Linked DNA regions of Homo sapiens: all the other regions are linked to region 1. The links are contacts of gene promoters, found by promoter capture Hi-C in blood cells and fetal thymus (Javierre and others, 2016). All regions are on one chromosome and are shown on one strand. The core of a region is centred on a gene start or on the middle of the fragment in contact, and the rest is flanking DNA. Distances in the headings are between cores, read along the strand shown.

Region 1 (6,324 bases), core at 3,585-6,084:
TTTATGCCTTAACAAATCTGATAATTTTAGCTCAGAACTTTCTTCATGCAAACTCATATCTGCTCTTTTATAACAAAAATCCTTGAAATAGTTGTCTATACTTGTCTTCACTTTTTCACCTCCCTTTTTCTCCTCTACCCTTCACAATAAAAATTTCCCCCTACATCTCTACTAAGAATGTTTTGTTGCTGTTGTTGTTTTGAGACAAGACCTTGCTTGGTTGCTCAGGCTGGAGTGGAGTAGCAAGATCACTGCTCACTGTAGCCGTTACCTCTCTGGCTCAGGCGATCCTCCCACCTCAGCCTCCCAAGTCGCTGGGACCACAGGCACACTCCATCACACCTGGCTAATTTTTAATTTTTCTGTAGAGATGGGGTTTCTCCATGTTGCTTGGGCTGGTCTCGAACTCCTGGACTTAAGTGATCCTCTTGCCTTGGCCTCCCAGAGTTCTAGGATTACAGGAGTGAGCTGCTGTGCCTGGCCTAAAAACGCTTTTGAAGGCACCAATGACCCTGATCTTCCCAGTCTACTAGTTAATTCTTAGTTTTCATCTTTGCTGCATTTGACGTGGCTTTATCATGTCTTGCTTCTGAAATTATAAAAATTTGGTTTCTGGGTCACCTCCTTCTCCTGGGTTTTCATTGTGCCTTGCTGTTATCTCTTCTCAATCTCTTCTGCAAAATCCTCTTCCTCTCCCTGACTTCTAAAGATTGGCACAGCTTGGGACTAAATTCTTTTCTACCTATACTAACACGCAACATGATCTTTCCAGTCCCGTGGTTTCATATAGCAGCTGTATGCTAATGCATCCCAAATTCATATCTCTAACTGTGATGTTTTCTCCAAATCCCAACTCATATATCTAACTGCTTATTGAACAACCCTACTTGAATGTATAGTAGGTATCTCAAACTTAACTGTCCAAAACTGATTACATTCTAGTCAGGGAAGTAGATAATAAACACATTTAAAAATGAATCTCTAGGCTGGGTGCAGTGGCTCACGCCTGTAATCCTAGCACTTTGGGAGGCTGAGGCAGGCGGATCACCGGAGGTCAGGAGTTCAAGACCAGCCTGGCCAACACGGTGAAACCCCGTCTCTACTAAAATGCAAAAATTAGCTGGGCATGATGGCGGGTGCCTGTAATCCCAGCTACTCGGGAGAGTGAGACGGTAGAATCACTTGAACCCAGGAGACGGCGGTTGCAGTGAGCAGAGATCGTGCCACTGCACTCCAGCCTGGGTTGCTGAGTGAGACTCCATCTAAGAAAAAGAAAAAAAAAAATCTTTATTTCAGCTAGTGCAAACTGCTACAAGGAGAAACAAAGCCAGAGAAGGGAAATGAGAGCTTAAGTATTCGAAGGAATTAGGCAAAGCCTCACTCTGGCTCTGCAAGGTCAGAAGGAAGGGCAGTCAGTGTGCAGAGAACAGCAAGTGCAAAGATTGATCTCCATTCCACCCAAAACTCTTTCCCCAATTTAGCTAATGGTATCACTATTCACTTATTTGCCCAGGCATCAGAGTCACTCTTCATTCATCTGTTTTCCTCACCCTTCACAGTCAATTCATTTAGCAATTCCTGTTGGCTCTAACTTCAGATTATATCTGGAATCTGATCATTTTTCGCTACCTTCATTGCTTTCATCAGAGTCCTACCAATCATTGTCCTTGTCCCGACTACTACTCCACAGCCTTCTACCTTGTCTTTCTGCTTTTATTCTTGCCTACAGACTTCATCTAGCAGCCAGGATGTCTTTCAATAATATAAATCAGATCATGTTATTTCATTGCTCAAAACTGCAGGGGGCCGGATGTGGTGGCTCACACCTGTAATCCCAGCACTTTGGGAGGCCAAGGCAGGAGGATTCCTTGAGTGCAGGAGTTCAAGATCAGCCTGGGCAACACAGAAAGACCCCACCTCTTAAAAAAAAACATTAAAATTCTCCAGTGGCTTATTTCTATCATACTTATAATAAAATCCAAATACTTCACTCTGATTTACAAGGTACTAAATAGTCTGGCTCCCTCTGAACTCAGCTGCTACCTTTGATTTTTCTAGTTGTCACTATCTACCCTAAGTTTCTCCAAAGCTTTTTCTTTCCACTAGTCAAGGTCTTTGTTGCCTCAGTCTTTGCACTTGCTATTCTCCCCAGGTTGACTGCTCTTCCTTCTGATATTGCATGGTCTGAGTGAGGCTGTCCCTAATTCCTTTCAATACTTAAACTCTTTTCCCTCCTCCGGCTTTATTTCTCTTTATAGCAGCTTGCACTAGCTGAAATAGAGTTTTCTTTGTTTGTTTATTATGTGCTTCCCTGATTAGAATGTCAGCTTCATGAAAGCAGGAATCTTGTCTCTCATGATCACTGGTAGATTCCTGGTACCCTAAAACAGTGCCTGGCACATAGCAGGCATTCAGTTTGTTTGAGTAACTGAATGAATCCAAGTGCCAAATTAGATGTCTCAAATTTAGCATTCCCAGACTAAAGACACTATCATCTTCTTGCACAAAAATCTTCCAGGATTCACTATCCTAAGTGAATTGGGTCACCAACCAGTCTCTCCCTGTAAAAGCTCAATGAGTAATCCTTGGCCGTTTCTCTATCTCTCCCTTGGCCACTTGAAATCCGGCTCATTGTACATAATAAACACTCTTGAAACTTCCTTGCATCGCTATTTCTCCAAGCCACTCACCATCATCTCCACCTGGGGTTTCGAGCCTCCAACCTAGCTTCCTTCTAATACATTCATTACACTGTCTCCATGTAATCTTTCTAAAATGCAAATATTGGTCAGGCACAGTGGTTCACGCCTATAATCCCAGAACTTTGGGAAGCTGAGGCGGGCAGATTACTTAAGGTCAGGAGTTCCAGACAAGCCTGGCCAACATGGTGAAACCCCATCTCTAATAAAAATACAAAAACTAGCCAGGCGTGGTGGCACACGCCTGTAATCCCAGCTACTTGGGAGGCTGAGGCAGGAGAATCACTTGAACCGGAAGGTGGAGGTTGCAGTGAGCTGAGATTGTGCCACTGCACTCCAGTCTGGGCAGAGTGAGACTCTGTCTCAAAACACAAAAACAAACAAGAAAACAATAAAATGCAAATCTTACCATGCTGCTCCGTAGCTGTAAAAGCTTGAGCCTTCCCATGGCCATGAGAGTGGTTTTTATCTTTCCTGGCAGGCAATAGGCTCTGTGTGGGCTGAACAGTACCTAGCATTCCTTGAATTAGAATGCATTGATTTGGTGAATATTTAGGAGAAATATAAAAATCTACCCTTTATTTTTTGGATACAGGATCTCACTATGTCACCCAGGGTAGAGTGCAGTGGAGCAGTCATAGCTCACTGTAGCCTCGACCTCGTGGGCTCAAGCCATCCTCCTCCCTCAGCCTCCAGACTATGGGCGTGTGCCTAAAAATGTCTATTTGATGTAGCAACATGAGATAAATCTGGAGAAACAGGAGGGAATAGTTGTTCCGATCATTACTTTTACATTATTATAACTGAATACATTGTTATTTTGTAAATGATTACAGCCTGGAATTGAATAGGGGGAAACGGAAGCAGTTGTTACAATCATTATCAATTTGAAAGTGAAGACTTCTTTTCTCTCTCTTTTTTTTTGAGACAGTCTCGCTCTGTCACCTAGACTGGAGTGCAGTGGCGTGGCGATTTCGGCTCACTGCAACCTCCACCTCCCGGGTTCAAGGAGTCTCCTGCCTCAGTCTCCCGAGTAGCTGGGACTACAGGCACACACCACCACACCCGGCTAATTTTAGTATTTTTAGTAGAGACAAGGTTTCGCCATTTTGCCTAGCTTGGTCTCGAACTCTGACCTCGGGCGATCTGCCCGCCTCGGCCTCCCAAAGTGGGATTATAGGTGTAAGCCACCGCGCTCGGCTGAAGATTTCCTTCAAACCTTTCGTTCTACCTTATCATTTTCTTTAAAGTTTTAAAAAATTGTTATTTATTTATTATTTATTTTTTTAAGACGGAGTTTCACTCTTGTTGCCCGGAGTATAATGGCGCGATCTCGGCTCACAGCAACCTCCATCTCCCGAGTTCAAGCGATTCTCCTGCCTCAGCCTCTCGAGTAGCTGGGATTACAGGCGTGCGCCACACGCCTGGCTATTTTTTTTTTTTTTTTTTTTTTTTTTTTTTTTTTGAGACGAGTCTCGCTCTGTCGCCCAGGCTGGAGTGCAGGGGCGCGATCTCGGCTCACTGCAATCTCCGCCTCCCGGGTTCAACCAATTCTCTGCCTCAGCCTCCCGAGTGGCTGGGATTACATACAGGTGCCAACCACCAAGCCCGGCTAATTTTTTTGTATTTTTAGTAGAGACGAGGTTTCATCATCTTGGCCAGGCTGGTCTTGAACTCCTGACCTTATGATCCACCCGCCTCGGCCTCCCAAAGTGCTAGGATTACAGGCGTGAGCCACCGCGCCCAGCCCACGGCTAATTTTTTTATTTTTAGTAGAGACGGGGGTTTCTACATGTTGGTCAGGCTGGTCTCGAACTCCGACCTCAGGGGATCCGCCCACTTCGGCCTCCCAAAGTGCTGTGATTACAGGCGTGAGCCACCGCGCCCGGCCCCCCCCCTTTTTTTTTTTTTTTAAAGGAACAGGACTTGATCTTAATTCTACAATTACTTTCTCCCATACTCCCACTCCCGCCCAGAACAAGATAGCGACAGGCCCTAGCGGGCCACCGTCCACAGGGCGGATCCGCCAGAAGCTCTCCTGCGACGCGAAGATCCACTCCCTGAGCCCCCGGCGCTCCCTCCGCCTCACTTCCTCCTCCAGGCTCCGCCCCGCGCCGGTGCGCCTGCGCACGGACGAACACGTGGCTGCAGCGGGGCCAGAGCAGCAATGGCGGCGGGCGGCGGCGGTAGCTGCGACCCCCTGGCCCCTGCTGGGGTCCCTTGCGCCTTCTCCCCGCACAGCCAGGCCTACTTCGCTTTGGCCTCTACCGACGGTCACTTACGAGTATGGGAGACGGCCAACAACCGGCTGCACCAGGAGTACGTGCCTTCCGCGCACCTCAGTGGTACCTGCACCTGTCTGGCCTGGGCGCCAGCGCGGCTGCAGGCCAAGGTAAAGCGAGCGGGACTGCGCGGGGCGGGCGCCTTCCCGGGCTCGGCTTCGGGCCTCCGGGCCGGGTGGCGCGTGGTCCGGCATCGCGCGTGGCTCTCAGCGGCCCGGGCCAGAAGGCTTGGAGGCGGCGTCGGCGCGTTCAGGGCCCAAGCCGCCAGCCCCGCGTGCGGCCTGCCGCGAGGGCAGTGAGGGAGGGCGCAGCTCGACCCGGCCGGCCTCGTATCCGAGCCCTGCCGGCTGGCCCAATGAGGCCTGGGCCCCACTGTTGACGGGCAGCCATGTTCGCCAAGTCCCCTGGTCCCCCTGGGGCGGCTTCCTTCTGCCGGGCCTTGGCTCATCAGAGTTCTGGTTTTTGACAGAGCCCCATCTTGGGACTATCTAACTTTCCTCTGTCTGTGATCCGGCTCATCAGTTTTGCACTGGGCAGTTGGTATGGACTAGTCTGTACTTGCTTCCGGACCTTCCCCCTCCTGCCCCCCCTTTGGGTGCCGGCTCACCACGTGTTCTCGTCCCCGTCCAGGTTGTGGGACTCTCAACTCTTAACTTTTGCCTTTCCCAGGCACCTCTACATTCTCAGCTTTTTGAACTCACTGCTTTTTGATTTTAACATCTGCTCGCCCCTCCCGCCCCGCTTTCAAGCCGATCACACTGCTCCCCACCCACCCCAATCTGAAGTCTGTATTAGGATGTGGAGGTTAAGTGAAGTAGTAGCTTGATTTAGTGAATGTTTTATGAGTGCAGATGAAATTACCCTTAGATGGAAAACTGCCGAGTTAGGCAGAGCTTTTCATTGTTAGGGACCCGTGTCAGGTAAATGCCTTTCACTGTTGAGTCACTCAGCTACATCTCTCTAACTCAGCATGCACGTGGTTATTGCGTTTACAGAGTAGCCAAACCGAATCACTGCAAAGTGATTTGGAAACATCAGGTATCCTGAGGTGTGTGATGTGAGCTGTTTCAATGTGGAGAACTGTAAAAGCTATTTAGGATCTTACTCTCTCTGACGACCTGGGAAGCCTGCTAAATTTTTGGGTTGGGAAAAGGGATACATATAAGTTGCTATACTTTGGGCATGTTTAGATATTTTTCAAATTTTAAGCTACATTTTCATAGTTTATCCTGTTGATTCATAAAATAAACCTATCAGGGCTTATAAGTCAAACATAAAACTAAAAAAAAAATCAGTTTTTATTGTTAAAATTACAGCGCTCTGCTTATCTTTTATTTTCAAAG
Region 2 (5,921 bases), core at 2,128-4,627, 130 kb before region 1:
GGCGACAGAGTGAGACTGTGTCTCTAAATAAATAAATAAATATCTGTTCTTTAAGTAGCAACATATTACATTTTAGCATAAATGTTTTTTATGAAGATAACTTTTCTAAAGCAAAAATGTGAGAAGTGCCATCATTTTATGCAAATCTAATGTCTTTTTAACAGAAGACAGCTGAATTCACATCTCTGTTTTGTTTCAGTCTTTTGATACCTTGTTTTAGTTGAATATGAAGAAAGTCTGTAGTCCTACAGATACGTAGTTAGAAAAAGGAGGAGTAGTTTAATAGCTGTTCTAGATAATTGTGGGTATTCTCTGATGTTTATACCAAAAATCAGCAAGTGGTGGTTTTTTAAAGGTGAATTTTAAAAGAGATGTGGAATCTGAAATTATATCCATGAATTTTTATGTTCTCTTACATTAAAATCCATTGATCTTTCTTGTACTTTAAATGGATCTTACACATGACTTTATAATACGCGTTGTTCATTTGGATAATATTGATTCAGCTGAGTTATGCAGATGTCCAGATGTTGAAACAGCTTATTATCTAATACAGTATCCAGAAATGACATTTGTTAATGTTACAAGATCTCATCAGAAGAGTCCTTAATTATGGAGAAGCTGTCAGATTCATGGTGCTGATTACAAGGTTTCTAGAATTTTAGTTTGTAACTTGAAAGCTTGAATTTTATCATTGGCAACAAGTACTGTCAGTTGTTTTCCTTGAAATGACAGGGTCACTTTGTTCATGTTCACGTGTATCTGTTGAATATCTAAGTCTGAATAACCATAGTTTGTCAGTTAATACTTTCCAGTAAAAGTGTTTAGTGAAAAAAAGTGTCTAGGTCTGCTTGGAACTAAAACAGTCACAGGAGTGCTTTCCTTTGCGACAACCATTGTACTTTGGGATGGAGCAGGAGTGCTTTGTGGGCATTTCCATTTTATCATGTAGATTATTAAAGAGATGTATTCAAAGATTGAAGTTTAATAAAATTGATCATTTGTACTGCTTTACCAAAGGGCATACATGAAGCTGCCTTTTTTGTGTTTCACTGCATGTGTGTTGCAATGAACAACACAGTGACTGACTACCAGTGGGGTTTGGTGCCACTGACTTGGTGTGTACTGAGACACTTAACAGTTTTACCCATCCTTGCTTTTGTATTATCAAAGCAGATGTCAGTGCAGTGGAAAAAAAAAAAGTCCTTTATTCCTGAAATGTCTAGCCCTCACCTATATCTGTCACTTTTCTTCTTCACTCTTTTCTCATTATACTTGCTATTTGTTTACCAATGTACCTGAAATGACTTTTTACTTATGCTTTGTGAATTCATGAAAGCCATGGGCCTTCTCAGAAAAATATTTTTACATATACACAATATTACAGACAATTTGTGGTACTATACAGAGCCACTAAAGGCCATTTTGGTCTCTGAATCCACGTTAGTTATTCTTTTGTTTTGAGACGGAGTCTCACTTTGTCACCCAGGCTGGAGTGCAGTGGCACCATCTCAGCTCACTGCAACCTCTGCCTCCCGGGTTGAAGCGATTCTCCTGCCTCAGCCTCCCGAGTAATCTGGGATTACAGGTGCGCGCCACCACACCTGGCTTATTTTCGTATTTTTAGTAGAGACGGGGTTTCAGCATGTTGGTCAGGCTGGTCTTGAACTGACCTCCTGATCCGCCCACCTTAGCCTCCCAGAATGCTGGGATTACAGGCATGAGCCACCATGCCCGGCCCACATTAATTATTGTTAACAGGCAGTCCTAAGATGAGAGGGAAGTACAGCAGCTGCCTAATTTTTTTTCACTTAAAACCGTGTGTGTGTTGTGTGCATAGAGAAAGATGGGGAGGAAAGGAAGACAGAGTGGGAGAGGGAGAAGAAAAGCAAGAGAGAAAGAATGAAAAAGCAAAGGGGGCTGGACGTGGTGGCTCACGCCTGTAATCCCAGCACTTTGGGAGGCCGAGGCAGGCGGATCACGAGGTCAGGAGATCGAGACCATCCTAGCTAACATGCTGAAATCCCGTCTCTACTTAAAATACAAAAAATTAGCTGGGCATAGTAGCACCCACCTATAATCCCAGCTACTCGGGAGGCTGAGGCAGGAGAATGGCGTGAACCCGGGAGGCAGAGCTTGCAGTGAGCTGAGATTGTGCCACTGCACTCGAGCCTAGGCAACAGGGCGAGACTCCATCTCAAAAAAAAAAAAAAAGAGAGACTCCACATTTTAGCCAATTGTAGAATTTTTATTTTTCTGCCTTTTTGTTGCTTAAAAGCAGGCTTTTGTGCTAAATATGGAGAAAATGCTAGGAAAAAATTAGGATGTCTAGATTTAACTGCCATTAATTAGTATGTAATCTTGGGGGTGGGGGTTGAGTAAGAGTTAGAATACCAGTGGTCAGTGAAGATTACTAAGATTTTATGAGGCCAAGGCGAGTGGATCACTTGAGGTCAGGAGTTCGAGCCTGGGCACATGGCGAAACCCCGTCTCTACTAAAAATACAAAAAATTAGCTGGGCATGGTGGCACACACCTGTAATCCCACCTACCCAGTAGATTGAGGTAGGAGATTCACCTGAAGCCAGGAGGTGGAGGTTTCAGTGAGCCAAGATCATGCCATTATACTCCAGCCTGGGTGACAGAGAGACCCTGTCTCAAAAAAAAAAAATTTATGAGACACCGTGCATAGGTGTTGGAATTAGTGCTTTTTTCTTGCCATCTTTTCTGTTTTAGAGAGGTAATGATAAGTAAGAACTTGCTGGGGAAAGTAGCATAAGGTTAGTGAAAAGTAAAATTTAGTATACACACAACACACAGACACATATATATCACATACCCTTGGATATGTGCGTTGGAAAGACAAACCTGCAATGGAAAAGTTTTTACACTGATATAAAATGTGAAATATAATGGTTGAGTAAAGGACAGAATTCTTTTGGGAGAGGATACACATTTTGCTTAATTGAGATTCAAAGTTAATGTTCTCTGTCATCAAAACTGATTGCAAGTGGTCATCTCTTGATGCTGATCTGTAGTGAGATTCTATGTATTTCATCTTAGAAGATGTCTTTTTACACAGGGACATACTGCATATTCATCACTTGGAAAGCATTTATAGAATTCTCCTGATACTTGCCTTTCAGCATGTCATTACATTGCAGATTAATCACTTCCAGTAGAGGGTTAGGTGGAAGCTCCTCGGCTGCACAGTTAAATGGATTTTGATATATGGAAATTTTTTTTGCGCTTGAGTCAAGGTTTGAAGAATGCTAGTTTGAGTTTGAAAAAATGTATCTGCTGCAAAATTGTGTGGGAATGAAGATCTCACTTGTCTTAACTTGGCAGCACGGGTTATGTATAAAGCAGTTTGCTGACTGGGTATGGTGGCTCGCGCCTTTAATCCCAGCACTTTGGGAGGCGGAGGCAGGAGGATCACTTGAGTTCAGCAGTTTGAGACCTGCCTGGGCAACATAGTGAGACCTTGTCTTTATAGAAAATTAAATTAGCCAGGTGTGGTGGCATGTGCCTATAGTCCCAGCTACTTGGGAGGCTGAGGCAGGAGAATGTCTTGAGCCAGTAGGCTGTAGTGAGCCTCATTACACCACTGCACTCTGGCCTGGGCAATAAAGCAAGACCACATCTCAAAAAGTAAAAAATTAAAAAATAAAGCAACTTGCTTTAATTCAGACAGTATTAGTTGTCAGAATGACTTACCACAATGGAAGTTTCTCATATATTTTTTTGCCTTATAATTTTAGGCTGAATTTATTAGAAAACATTTAGGGGAGCTTTCATTCTATTTTGTAGAATAGAGGCTACCTCGAATTAAAAGGGGAAAAATTACTAGATCTGCCGCAAAATTTAATTTCTAAAACTCTTCTGTGTTTGGTAATAGTGATTGAGGGTGGTGGTTCTTGTTTAGAAAAAATTCAGTATCAGCCCTGAATGCAAATAAATTACAATAAAGCTGTCACTGCTAAGCCATCAAAATCCTGTGTGGTTGGCCAAATGAGGATATTCAGCTTTTATTACTAACAAATAGTCATGTAACTGACAGTGGTTAAGTTCATTAGAGCAAATGAAGTTGACCATTGATGCCTGTGGTTCAGTAATACCTGATTAAGATATTTTTCCACAAAAAAACTGCACCAGACTTCAAACATCCTACATTTTCTCAGACTTTGTAAAATAGTCCAACTAAGTATTTTTCTACTTTACCATCATCAGTTGTGACATATCTTAGCAGATTACACTTCAGGTTGTACTAAAATAGTTTTTCTCAGCTGCTTTGAGAATATTCTTGCCTCTAGTTGTTCCACATAGATTATTTATAGAGGGTAACTTTTCAGTCACTTCGAATGAGGATTGGCTCCCCAAATAACAAGTATTGGTAATACCTGTCATCGAGAGCCAAGGAACACCACTCAGAACCATTTGGCTTGTTTTTTAATTGTTTACTAATTTTGCTCCCAGTGTTCTCAACTCTTCAAGCACCGTTTTTACAGAAAGGCTAATGGCGTTTAAAAGTTTATTGTCTCAGCTGGGGTGGTGGCTCACGCCTGTAATCCCAGCACTTTGGGAGGCCAAGGCAGGCAGATCACGAGGTCAGGAGATTGAGATCATCCTGGCTAACATGGTGAAACCCCGTCTCTACTAAAAATACAAAAAATTAGCCGGGCGTGGTGGCGGGCACCTGTGGTCCCAGCTACTTGGGAGGCTGAGGCAGGAGAATCGCGTGAACCAGGGAGGCAGAGCTTGCAGTGAGCCGAGATCACACCACTGCAGTCCAGCCTGGGCAACAGAGCAAGACTCCATCTCAAAAAAAAAAAAAAGTTTATTGTCTCAAAAAATACATAGTTCTTCAGCTTTTCCAATCAGATACAATTTAATTAACCCACCATTGATAAATGACTTAACTTGGCTAACAAATGGGCCACTTGGAAACTTGAGTTGCAGACTCATTTTTATTTTTGTGAAGAAATTCTGCTGTGATGAGATTTCATTTTAATTTTTTAAAAAGTTCCCTTACCATTGCTTTACTATGAATTGGGAATGCTGTGGTGAGTGCTCCATCTGGTAACATCAGTATATGTTGTGGTTTTTTTTTTAGCACAGCTACATAATGACTACAATGCCTTAGCACCCAATTAAATAACATAATCCACACTTTATTGTGTCTTAAAAACACAACATTCAAAGTTCACTTTTTTTGCTTTGACATGATGAGTATGCACTGGTAGTAAAAGTAAATAAAATGTTGCAGTACAGCAATAATCGTGACACCCATGACGCTGCCAGGTTGTAACTGCATCTGTATAATTTGTGATGCACCGAAAAGCAGTGTGAAGTGATGAGAGTACCATATGTAGTCCATCACAACTGCTCAGCTCTGCCATTGTAGCATGAATGTGTCCAGTGATAAATAAGTGGCTATGCTTCATTAAACTTTATGGCCACCAAAATTTGAGTTTCATATAATTTTTATATGTCACAGAGGATTCTTTTGTTTTGCTTTTTTGCAATCATTTAAAAAATGTAAAAAATTATTCTTAGGCCCCTAGCCATGCAAACACTGGCATTGGGCTAGATTTGACCCCTTGGCCTTAGTTTGCTGAATACTGGTGTAGTTTTTCTGCCTTTCCTAATGTAAACATGATTGTAGAAAGATAACCTTACTGGAAGTCAGGAAACCTTGGTGCTCCCACCAAAGTTGTGTGACTGATTAAGTCAGGTGAAATAAATTGGGATTAGGAGCCATGGTGTCTAGTCCTTGACAAGTCATTCCTCAATTTTTTTAATGTAATCACCTGAATTTCTAGTGTATGCATAATCACATTTTGTGTGCCTCTCGGCAGCCATTCCATTGTTGAAGAGGCAGCCAACACAGAAAATTGTTGAGGGGTTTTGATCTTTGACAAG
Region 3 (5,949 bases), core at 3,291-5,790, 150 kb before region 1:
CTGCTCCTCCTCACCCAAAATTTTCCTGCTGTAAGTTGACAATCCTTGCCATCAAGTTACATCCGCTGCCCCACCCCATCGCCACTCACTTTTTCTCACAACAGAGTCCCAGAGCTAGTCCACCTAACTAGCCCAGCATCTCTAAATCACACTGCCTGGGTATTCCAGCCAGGGCTTTAGAATTGGACTGACCTGGTGCCTAAAGACAAGTCAAAGCCTCTGAGTCTTGATTCATTCCCACATCTATAAAAGGGAAACTACTTACTTCACAGGATTTTCTGAGGGATTAATTGTGATCATGTCAGTAAAAATTCCCAGCACATGGTACACTTATGAACCTCCAGCCAGGAACCTTTCTGACAAAGGAGCAATGCCTGTCACCTGGGCATGGGGACATTGGATCTCCCAGCCAAGCTGGGCTCTGTCTTAATAGGAATGTCACTACTAGAAGTACCTAAATGTTCTTAGAGCTTGGGATCACTCAATCACATTCTCTGGGTGGTTTGTTAAAACCTGGACTGGACTATGAGGAGCGAGAGCAACCTTTTTTTAGCAACAATAAAGTCATTCTTTGAGGTGACTGCACCGTTAAAACACACAGGGGCAAAACAGAAAAATGCTGTGCTCATTGCTGAGCAGGTTGCCCTGAAAAGTAGAGAATGAAAAATAGGAATAACGGTGGGCATGGGGACCCTGGGTTCTAGGGTGCTCTTGTGCAGGAAGGAGAGGGGACAAAAAGAGTAGGCTCTTGCACAGTATGAAGGCTTTCGAGTAAAAATCTGAAGGAGATGGAGAGATTGAGATTCAAGTCCTCGTTTTGCTAGTAAATCAATGCAATTTAACTTTGTTTTTGTTTTCTAGAGACAGGTATTGCTCTGTCACCCAGGCTGGAGTACAGTGGCATGATCATAGCTCAACACATCCTCAACCTCCTATGCTCAAGGGATCCTCCTGCCTCAGTCTCCAGAGTAGCTAGGACTACAGGTGCATACCACAGGGACTGGCCAAGTTTGAATTTTTTTAGTAGAGATGAAGCCTTGCTATGTTGCCCAGACTGGTCTTGAACTCCTGGGATCACGCAAGCCTTCTGCCTCGGCTTCCCAAAGTGCTGGGATTACACGCATGAGTCACCAAGCCCAGCCATAATTTAACCTTTCTAGATCACAACTTCCTCAATCGCAAAGTGAGATTAAAAGTAATTGTATCTTTTTTAAAAAAAGTTCCCAGCACAATATATTTACTCCCTTTCTTCCTTCTGCCTTCACATTCCCTATCCTTTGGTTTGGGAGCCAGCTCCTTCCTGGCAACCAAACCCCAAGATGTCATGAACTGTGCTCAGCCCACCATGCCCTGCCCCCACTCCCCCCCGCCCCCCAAGGATTCAAAGGTATCAGAGCATCCCTTGCCCTCTATGCTGCCAGCCCAGCCTTTGTCTCCCATATAGGGTCCAGGTCTGTCTGTAAATTGGAACTAGACTTGTCTTCACGTCTATTGCTCAGGGTAGTAGAAAACACTGAGAGATGTTTTCTGCCATGCCAAATAGGAATCCTCAATAAATATTCCCCATAAACTCTGTTATAATTGGTGGCTAGAGTCTATATTGCCATGGACACTCTTCTATAGTTACATTAAGGACTAAATTGATTTTGCAGACTGATCTGAGAGTTTAACCACCATTTGTACCACAGTCTCTGTGGGAAAATATATTCCATGTTCCGAACAATTGACCCTTTGGAGTTGGTCCAGTTCCTGAGCTGGGGACGGCATGTACAATATTATGTTACATTTTGGGTTTTATTTGTATGTCTTAGAATCAGAGACTTGTTTGAGCTAGAAGAAGCTTTGGAAATCATTTATTAATGGGCACATTTTGTAGGTAATGAATCCAAGGTTCAGAAAGATTGAATTGTCTAAGGTTATTCAGCTGCTTTGTTCTCCCACCTCCAAGCCAATGCTTTTCCCACTATCCAAGTCATTTTGTGGTCATTTTCCCACATAGTCATTAAACAACTTGAAAGTTGGGAAGTCATGCCTTCTTCAACACAGACTCAAACTCACTAAGTGTTTCATAAATACTTAATTGGTTCATTATTCTTTTTGCTTCAGAGGTCTATTCACTGTAAGGTTTTCTTAAATAACAAGTACCATAGAGCATTTCAATTAAGAACTTATTATGATAGACTGGATTTGGTTTAAATCAAGATTTAAATAATAATTAATAAATATTCTATTTAACCAGTGTTTCCTATATAAAAGACCTATTGGTGTTGGATGTAACTCTGATGAATATATTTCACAGCTCACAAATAGTTTGGCTTTAGTTTTAACAGACATATGCTATTAATTTTAATGTGGTCTTATATATTATGAGAAGCTACTCATTTTATAACTACATAAAAAAAGTAATGCTTTCCTTGTCTTATCTACCAAAACCCAATTGAAACAGAGACATAAAAACCAGTTAGGGCCAGGTGCGGTGGCTCATGCCTGTAATCCCAGCACTTTGGGAGGCCGAGGTGGGAGGATTGCTTGAGCCCAGGAGTTCGAGACCAGCCTGACACAGCGAGACCCTGTCTCTACTAAAAATAAAAAAAAATAGCCGGGCATGGTGGCACATGCCTATGGTCTCAGCTACTACGGAGGCTGAGGCAGAAGGATTGCTTGAGCCTGAGATGTCAAAGCTGCAGTTAGCTGTGAATGAGCCACTGTATTCCAGCCTGAGTGAGGCTCTGTCTCAAAAAAAGAAAAAAAATTAAGCCATTTAGCGGTAAACCTCCAACTGAAAAGGTGAATTATATGTGATTTGGATATACTACAGGAGAAACAGAGCAACAAGAAACAAAACATTTACAGTACACTGTTTCATTTGAAACAAATATTCACATATTGTATACTTTCCCTCATCAAACAGTTATTTCCTGGTATCCATTTCAGTGAGCAGGATGGGGGGAGGGGGGAGCAATAAAAGAGAAACATTCTTACCTGTGTAGATGACTTGCTTTTATTGTAACAAAGGCAACTGGCCCTGTAATCTAATTACAAGAAAAAAAGGCCACAGATAAACTCTTCAACAATTAAATAGTCATTACTTGTGGTAGCTGTTCACCTAGCTTTAATTGCCTTATAGTTAACAGTTCTAAATAGCCAGTTAACTCCTTCAATTACTAGACATTTATTTTTCAATCACTTTATCTTGAAAGATACGGATGTACTATGGAGTTAGCTTAAGACAAACTGAGAGAGAGAGAAGAGAGAGTTGGTTGGGGCCACCGGGGAGGTTACTGACCAAGGGCAGGGAAGGAGGCATTTATTTATATTTGCCTTATAATTCTGGGGGACTAAACTGGCTGAGGACATGCCTTATGGCTTAGCTATAATTTTGGCTATTCTCATATGTATAATGAAATGAAACCAAAACTAAATCTTAAGAACAAATCTTGGCCCTGCCTGGCTGTACCACCTAGGCCTGGCTCTGTATTGAGAGAGGTGGCCTCCTAATGATGCATATATGTCCTTGTCTGGTTTTCCAATTTTCTTGAATTGAGCTGACTATAAAAGCTTAATGCATGCGATATAAAGAATGGCTGACCTCCAGATACAACTAGTAAAATTTCAACTTACCACTACTTAAGACTTATTAAACACTTGATTGAGAAGAATCATATTTATGGAAGGACAGCCCAATGAATGTTGATTCATTCATTTAAAAGTCATCTTGGATTAAGCCAGAGCAGCAAAAAACTATATATCACCCCCTCCACATTTTGCTACCTAAACTTACTCACTTTCACACCAGATTGGCTACTGGCTAATACTGACAGGCATATAAGAAAAACATCCCTATGAAAGTCTTTGCTGCGTTTACTAACCGGAGTCACCAGGCTGCTGTTTACTGTGTTCCGAAATGCCTTCTCTAAGGACTATCCATAGAGACAGCTCTCTGGTCTCAATTCAGAGATGGTTGGGTTCCTCTGAGCACTGGTTTGCCTTTATCTGATAGGCACAGACATTATCTATTAGTAAAAATAAAATAATAATTTTATTAAGACCCCTAAATCATGATGCCCAAACCCCTTGCAATCAGGAAGTCTAGATAAATAACAGGAGTTTCCCTTCATAGAGATTTCTGGAATTACCCAAGGATATTAACATGCATGACCCAGATGCCTCCCTAAGCCTTATGGTGTGCTGGCAAATGTTTAACAACCATTATTCAGAAATAAGACAGGAAAACTGCCATCTATGACTGGTAAGATTATAGGTGATTTTTGTATTTTTTTTCTTCATTTTCCCAACTTCCTTCAGGAAACACATTTTACTCTGAAGGGGGTGAGGGTGGTGGCTAATACTTGGGATTATGGTGAGCTGCCCTAGAAACTATCGGGTTATTAAGTAACACTTAATATATGTACCAGTTTCACTTCAAAATCTGAAGCATTCTGAACTCTTAATTATTTTGGAGGGATATCCCACAGAAAAGTTGGCTGAGGCCCTAGTGATAAAGCTCTTTCTTACAGTGGCCCATTCCTGCCCAAGACTCCAGGCACTGGAAAACCTGGTGGGGGTGGAGAAGGTAACATCAGCAGGCAAGTACTCGGAACCACTCTCCTATCTCCTACCTCTTCTTCTCACGACCTCCAAAACTCTGCTGAGACCGGCCTCCCTCTGCCTCACTTGTGGTGATTTTCTCTCGGATGCTCACTTTCTCTCTGTGCAATCTTTCCTTTGGGTGTCCCTTGTCTTTAAACATGTCTGCGTATACCTGAACTCTAATTGTGGACAGGGTTCAAAGTTCTTTTTCATGGGATTCATGGGCCCCATGAAAATTAGAGGCTAAGTAGGCATCTAAGTAGGAGCATTTACGTGCTCCCAGGCATTCTGTTACACTTAAAGAGGCTCATGGAAGAGATTTGGGCAAGTGGTATAACTCTACAAGCTGCTATATTCAAGTCCTAGTTCCAGCTTAGCCAAAACACCTACTCCGATTGCAACTGATCTTTTTCTTGGTTGCTAGAAAACTGAGAGTCATATGTGTGGCCTACCTCCAGCAAACCAATAGGACCTTACACCATGCATTTTGCATACAAAACTGCTGGCTTAATCTTATCTTTCACACTCACGGTTTTCTTTTGTCCTATTTTTCTCTGTACTTATTTTTAATTTACCCTGATGTACACATTTATGTAAACTACGTTAAATCCTTTCCTCTGGAATAAAGTAGGGTGTAAATAAATTTAACAAAACAACAAAGAGTGATGATGAGCCAGGTCTTCACTCCTGAAGGCCTCAAAACGAACTGGCAGTGATCTGTGAAAACTACAGAGAACTGCCCGTTCATCTCCACAGATTACTGAAGTCTGTGAAAACTACTCCAGCCAGGACCACCATTATAGCCTGCTGCCTGTTGTGTTCACAATCGATGCACAAACTCAACCCTGAAATGGAGAGAAAAATAGGGGAAAAAAGACATTAGGAAATCCTAGCTCTATGTCATCTGGACATTAGAAAGCACTTGGTTGGACAAAGCTTTTTCTCCCCCACAGCACATGCCTGTTTCAGCATCTCAGCCCACATTCACGGAGAGGGAGAATATAGCAATTGTTAAGAATGCAGACTCTAGCACTGCATGCTCTGCTGTTTATTTGTGTTATTTGGGCTAGGTTTTTTAACCGTCTGTGCCTCGGTGAATCCCATCTACAAAGTAGAGATAATAATAGTACCTACCTCACAGGGCAGTTGTAAGGATTAAATGAGGTAACCCGGGTGTAACATTTAAAACAGTGGCAGAGTACATACAGGGATCTGAACAAATGTTAGCTACTATTAGTGATATGTGAGTGGGGGAAGCACACTGCCTTGGACTTGAGGCAATATCAAGTCTGAGTTTCTGGAAAAACACTTGTGGAATAAGTAAGGGCTGGCCACCTCCTAAAACCGGACAAAAGATCT
Region 4 (5,934 bases), core at 991-3,490, 230 kb after region 1:
TCTACAGTTCCCATTTCTACCAAAGATAATCACAGGCTAATTTGTTCGCAAAATAAGTTTTGTCTCATTAAGCTGGCCTGATTATATATGTAAGTGCAGCAAGAATAGTGAATATGTACACATTCTCAAGTATGCCATTCCAGTCAGAGGTTTGATAATATCTAAGGGGCTTTATTGGTTTTGTAAAGTCAATCTGAATTCCTTAAAACTGTCTGGTAATAAGGAATCTGAAATTAGACTTTAAAAAGCCTTTTCAGTCTAAGAAGCCAAGCAGAGGACTTGCCCAATTGTGTCCTGTTACAGGGGAAACAAACTTTCATTGAACTTATGTAAATATTTATATTGCCATGAAAATAAAGAATACTCAATAAGTTTCTGAATTTTGGAGGGGTTGGGGTAGGGAGAAAAGAAAATGTGTTTCATTTTTGTTTACAAAAGTATTCTTCACCAAATTGCTGTAAGTTGTAGGTCTTAAGGGAAAAGAGAAAAGGCATTCTTTAACTCTAGAAAACAAACATTAAAGAACCCGCAATATTTCAAAGACATAAAAATTATAATCACCCTCATCAGTTCATTCAGTCCCCTGTAATTCTTGTTCTGCTTGATTTTGGGTTAGCAGCCTCATGAATCCATTGGTTTTCCATTAGAGTGCTGGAAATTCTTACCCAGTCCAATGCTGTGATCTTAAAGTTACCAGAAACCTGCACTTGTCAGAGTCTTTTCTGTAAATCTTCCAGCAATTTTGTATCACAGATGCTTGCAAAAGCTTTCAGGAAAATATCAGAGTAAAAAATCACTGTCTGTAGATGGCAAAAGATTTAAAATGTCCATAGTTACAGATTTGATGACAGTTCATTTTAATGCAATTGACAAGGAAATTTGGTTGTTTATTTTATAACATTTGAAGATAATAACTGGAATTATGACTGATAAAATTATACCAGAACATATCCAATTTCTAGGAATTTCATACAATTTCTAAAACACTTACATTAATAATATAGTCATACAAAAATAACATAAGGTTAAGCATCACCTTTGACAATGCTTCTCATGCAGTGTAATAGATCAAATAAGCCTAGTTAGTTTCACATATCAAATAAGCCTAGTTAGTTTCACATTTATTTGACAATGCTTCCCATGCAAAGATGCTTAATTAGTTTAATGTCTGTGTTTTTTTTTTTTTTTTTTAAAGAAATAGAACAAGATTTTCTAGGGGCCGTTGAAAAATCCCAGAGTTAGTCTAAGGTCAGAAAAGACTTCATTCAGAATTTGATTTTTGAGACGTTTATAAAAAGAATACCCAAAAGATTCAAGATTCAAAGCACTTGATTAAATAGGATTACAGGTATTTAGTTATCCATTTAACCAAAGTGACAAAGATTTCAAAGGCAAATACAGAGAAAGCCATGTAGTTGTTAAAAAAAACAAAAACAAAAAAAAACAAAACCCCTTGACTTTTTGAGAGAGAAACTTAATCAAAGACAGCACGAAGCACATGAAATTATCTTGACAAAATACAGAATCTTTGCTTTCTAGGCAGACCATTCAAAAGTTAAAGAAAAACCTTTCACAATCTCCCATCAAGAGCAGGCCCATACTCCAAGAAAGTTTAGTCGTTTTAACAGGAGCTGAAATGCTAGTTATGCATTATTTTGATATGAATGATAATAGATTCATTCAATTTTAGCCAGCTTAATCACACAAGATTCTCTCTCCCTCTTCTGAACTTCCTATAGCCATTTTGGTTTTTTTCCTTCATTTTCTTTTTCAGCAAAAAACATATCTTCCTACTTCACATTTTTTCTTGACTGTCACGCTAGCATTCTGTAGATTGAGAAATCTATGTAAATACACCATAATTTCTAGAAGCACGTTTCCTTATATTATAATTTTTCAGTGTAGCACAGGACATGTTTACTAACACACCCAGGTATCTTTAGTTTCTCTGTCCAAAAGTAGATAAGCTTATGTTCAGCAATTAATGTTTCAGTATTTATCTTATGTGGACTTACATTGATTTAATTCACTTGTTTTGAACAATTATGCTTGGATTACTTACGAAAATTTCATGAGACATTAAATAGCTAAGCATCATCTTGTTTTTCTTGCTGAGAAATTTTGTAACTTAGAGATAGCAGAGGCTTATTTGTAATTCACTTGTCTAACATGAGCTTATTTGACTAGTAGACCTACATAGAATCAAAGTTGTACGTCTGCCTTATGTCTAATGCTGACAACTCTGAAGGCATATTGGTTTTTTAAACTAAACCAACAATGTTTTTGTTTATTGAAAATTACCCAAGTCACATGAACTTGAAAAGCATTTGGATTAGTTCCTATTTTTCTGAGAGTTTTCAGGAATACTTAATTTATATAAGCACTTGTTTTTACTTATGTCTATTGAACATACATAGCTATAAGATCTCTGTGTCTGTTTGTGTATACAGACAGACACAGAGATCTTATAGCTTTCATTTCCAAATTTTAGCCATGTGTCAATTAAAATAATACAAAGCTTATTGGTTTATAAAAGAAGCTGGATCCAAATTGTACCTGTGAGAGATGGAACAAGTCAAGGTTACCTGCTCAGATGGCTACAGCTTTTTAGTGAAGATTTTTTTTTTATTTGAGTGCTGTAGGGATGCTTTTAGAGAAGCTATTTTTGAGTCATTTTGTGTTCAGCAGCTTCTGCATACAAATCAAAGAATGCATTCCATTGTCTCCAAAAGGCTTAGGATACTCCTCCTTCAAGGGCACTCCCAAAGGCAGACTATCTTACCTAAATTAAAGGTTCTCCGAAGTGGTCACTGAAATTGCAAATTATTCTTTGTAAAGTTCACCTATTTTTTCTTGTGAACTTTGTAAAGTTCACAAGATTCTGATCCACAGTGTTTTTGGACCCCATCTTTGCATTAGATTCTCTGAAAGGTCTTAACTATTAAGGATTCTTTTTTCAGCAGCTGCTCTGGAACACAGGGAATCATGTGTTTCACCCTTCCCCCTTTTGAACAGAATAGGTTGACTTCCTGAGAAGTTTCAGCAAAGGTTGTTCAGCATAATTGGAGAGTTCTACACAGAAGGAGGAGAGCTCAGATTCAAAAGAGACTTACTCTAGAACTCCATGGCTGGGTGAGAGAGCAGCCAGTGCTGCGGCCCTGGGTACCAGCACCTAGTTACTGGCCTTGGGGCTTCACAGGGGTCTTCTTCTGATCCTGCTTCTGACATCAAAAACTGTCAAAAGAAAATTCAGGGTGCTTTTCTTAATATAAATATTAAGTTAGTAAAAAACTGCAAATAGGGAGACTTCCAAATCAAAAGTGGTAAGAAGCTTGTCTCACGAAGGTTATAGTAAGGTTTATAAAGCCTAGAAAAGGAAATTCATACAGCTTAATTCTCACTGGTTAGAATGAGTGGGTTAGTTTAGTCATTACTGATTTGCTGCAATGTGCTGAGTCATGCTGACCAAGAAATGAAGTTCAAGCTTCATGTGCAGTTTAAGTAGGTGTTTTGGAGAATAGGTCCTTACAGGTTTTCCTGAGCTGGGGGTGGGACTTTGGCTCAGAGGCCAAGGTTTGTCTTGGCTTCTATTTTGATTTTTGCCTAACAGGACCATTTTGTTGTCTAAGCTTACGAATGTTATCACATTTCAGTTCAATCTTTCTGATTCTCTTCTGATGGACTGCTGCTCTGCTTGTATATGTGTCTTTAGTTTGGTGCCTCTCATCTTTTAGTTATGCTGACTCTAGAAGTAAGAACTATGTGTACATAGTATAATTTTGGAAAATATATAAATGCAAAGAAGAAAGCAAAAACAAAAAAACCTCAATGAGTCCCACTACTTATGCATGCTGTTACAATCTGAGCTCAGTGGTGAGTTACCTCAGCAAGTAGAATAATAGAGGAAAGAAGATAGACTTTGGAGACAGACCTGGTTTTCTACCCCAGATTTGCCACTTACTAGCTGTGCGATGTTGAGCTGGTATTATTTAGTCTGAGCTTTGCTTTCCTCATGTGCAAAATGAGAATAATACCTGCCAGGTAAGGTGTTGGTGAGGATTTTTAAAGTATTTAGTAAGTGCTCAGCAAATGTTCATAATATTTTCCTTATTTAGATACTTCTGATTTTTTTTTAGCATCTAAAATATTTGTATCATTTGAACCTTGGTTTTATTGTTTATTATTTTCAATATATTTATTTGAAACTTTTAGTAAATTTAATTTGCATCTTTTTTTATTTCAGAATTTTCTTTCTTTGATCCTAATGATGCATCATGCCAGGAAATTCTTTTTGATCCCAAAACTTCAGTTTCAGAATTATTTGCCATTTTGAGACAGTGGGTTCCTCAGGTCCAACAAAACATTGACATTATTGGAAATGAGGTAAGGAATTCTTACATTTTAAGTTTTGCATTGTTAGGATTGTTAATGGTATAGATTTTTTTCCCCATCTGAAAGGAAGATGGTAATAAAGGAGAAACCCTTTAAAAGTTCTGATATTTATTTGTATTTCCAGGATTTTCATGGGGCAGTGAGTTAATACTATATATTCTTCTGATTATTTCTTCATGCTCTGTACTTCTGACATTTGTAGACTCCTGGCGGGTGCAGGGAGGGGCATTTTTCATATTTCCTTCTTTGTAAAATTAATTTTGTAAACTTTTATGCATTTCATAAAGGGATTTGATTACCATCATGTTCTATTTACACTTTTGGTTGGTTTGGTAAATATATAGGCTTGAATGTAGTCTTTAAGAATATTAGATTTTTTGAGGGAGGGTTCCTTGACCAGTATGTTGCTGTGTTGTAGGAAGAGAGTGCTTATACTTTTTTCAAATATCATTACACGCATAGAAATAAAATTTTGCTCATTTTTGAGAGGAACATATTTGGAGTGCCAGATTACCTTTGGAATAATCTTTAAGAATTTCCTTCAGCCTGCTGACAAGTTCAGTTTTCATTATTGTTGTTGAGTACAGATTTAAAAATTTACCCTTAAGATATGCTCATACTGTCTATACATTTTACTGAGAAGTAATTCAGATACGATAGACTAACTTGGTTCCTCAGCATTGGTTTGAAAGCAATAGGTACCTCAGTAGTTAGGTTGTAACCATATTTTCCTTGACTGCTTCAGATTCTTAAGAGAGGTTGCAATGTGAATGATAGAGATGGATTGACAGATATGACTCTTTTACATTATACCTGCAAATCTGGAGCTCATGGTATTGGTAAGTGTGTGGTAAATCTATCAGTTGCTTATGTCATCTGCACTTGTGCTTAGATAATCTATATTTATGCCCATATATTGTCTGGGGGAAGGCACCCAGCTGATGATGATAATATTGCCTGAAGAGCTGAGGATTCAGTTAGGTCCTTCCAAAAACCATATTCCCTTTAATCAAGGAGGTCTTTATACCCTCCTGATACCTCTTAACTTTTCTGGATCAGGCCTCATGCCTGATTGCATAATAGATGAGAGTAACTAGTAACACCCTAAAATCTTTCTGAGGGTTTATAACAAGGTTTGACAGTCCAAGGTCAGTCTTTGCATACTGATCCCTAATCTTAAGACCCCAGTCTTGAGACCTAAGGTCTGTTCCTACATATGTAACATATGTGCATATTTTCCAAAATTGTTATTCTCTTGTGCTTTTTGTCATTGTATGAACCTGCATCTCTTACTTAACTATATATTGTGATTGTCTCTCCTTGTTTCAATAGTCTGATGTGGTGGTGCTGAAGCTACTGGTGGTGATGGACTCCTTTTTCCCCTCACAACTCATCATGAACTGATACTTTCACAAAATAAAATAAAAATGAATTTATAATACAAAATAAAATAAAGCCATAAAATATAAGCCCAAATATTTTTCAAATGGCATAAAACTGGCCAGGCATGATGATTTACACCTGTAATCCCAACACTTTGGG

The links. Contacts are between HindIII fragments. The CHiCAGO score rates a contact against its expected background, and 5 or more counts as called.
Region 2: a contact is called between a fragment that was not itself captured here and the fragment with the promoter of WDR43 in region 1, in 1 of 17 cell types (total B cells). The highest score is 5.3, in total B cells.
Region 3: a contact is called between a fragment that was not itself captured here and the fragment with the promoter of WDR43 in region 1, in 2 of 17 cell types (naive B cells and total B cells). The highest score is 5.5, in naive B cells.
Region 4: a fragment that was not itself captured here is called in contact with the fragment with the promoter of WDR43 in region 1 in 1 of 17 cell types (total CD8 T cells); the score reaches 5.8 in total CD8 T cells.

The regions. Positions count from the first base shown.
Region 1 is chr2:28,889,833-28,896,156 of GRCh38, forward strand. WDR43 (WD repeat domain 43) reads left to right here and starts at 4,835. Exons shown (of 18, transcript NM_015131.3): 1 at 4,835-5,091. The coding sequence starts at 4,867. RefSeq lists silencers at 4,819-4,898, 5,039-5,098, 5,139-5,188, 5,209-5,328 and enhancers at 4,979-5,602, 5,429-5,528, 5,603-6,224. The HindIII fragment of the contact is 5,798 bases long and covers 3,131-6,324 here.
Region 2 is chr2:28,762,261-28,768,181 of GRCh38, forward strand. The region is part of intron 1 of PPP1CB (protein phosphatase 1 catalytic subunit beta); the gene reads left to right. Among named protein-coding and RNA genes, the nearest start is that of PPP1CB, 13 kb to the left of the region's middle. The HindIII fragment of the contact is 5,399 bases long and covers 679-5,921 here.
Region 3 is chr2:28,744,951-28,750,899 of GRCh38, forward strand. PPP1CB-DT (PPP1CB divergent transcript) reads right to left here. Exons shown (of 5, transcript XR_007086259.1): 2 at 3,870-5,435; 3 at 2,983-3,032. Among named protein-coding and RNA genes, the nearest start is that of PPP1CB-DT, 3.8 kb to the right of the region's middle. RefSeq lists an enhancer at 3,302-3,381. The HindIII fragment of the contact is 1,968 bases long and covers 3,557-5,524 here.
Region 4 is chr2:29,127,015-29,132,948 of GRCh38, forward strand. CLIP4 (CAP-Gly domain containing linker protein family member 4) reads left to right here. Exons shown (of 16, transcript NM_024692.6): 3 at 4,244-4,383; 4 at 5,138-5,231. It overlaps LOC124907747 (a long non-coding RNA gene), which reads right to left and starts at 3,334. Exons shown (of 2, transcript XR_007086264.1): 1 at 3,114-3,334; 2 at 151-800. The HindIII fragment of the contact is 551 bases long and covers 1,966-2,516 here.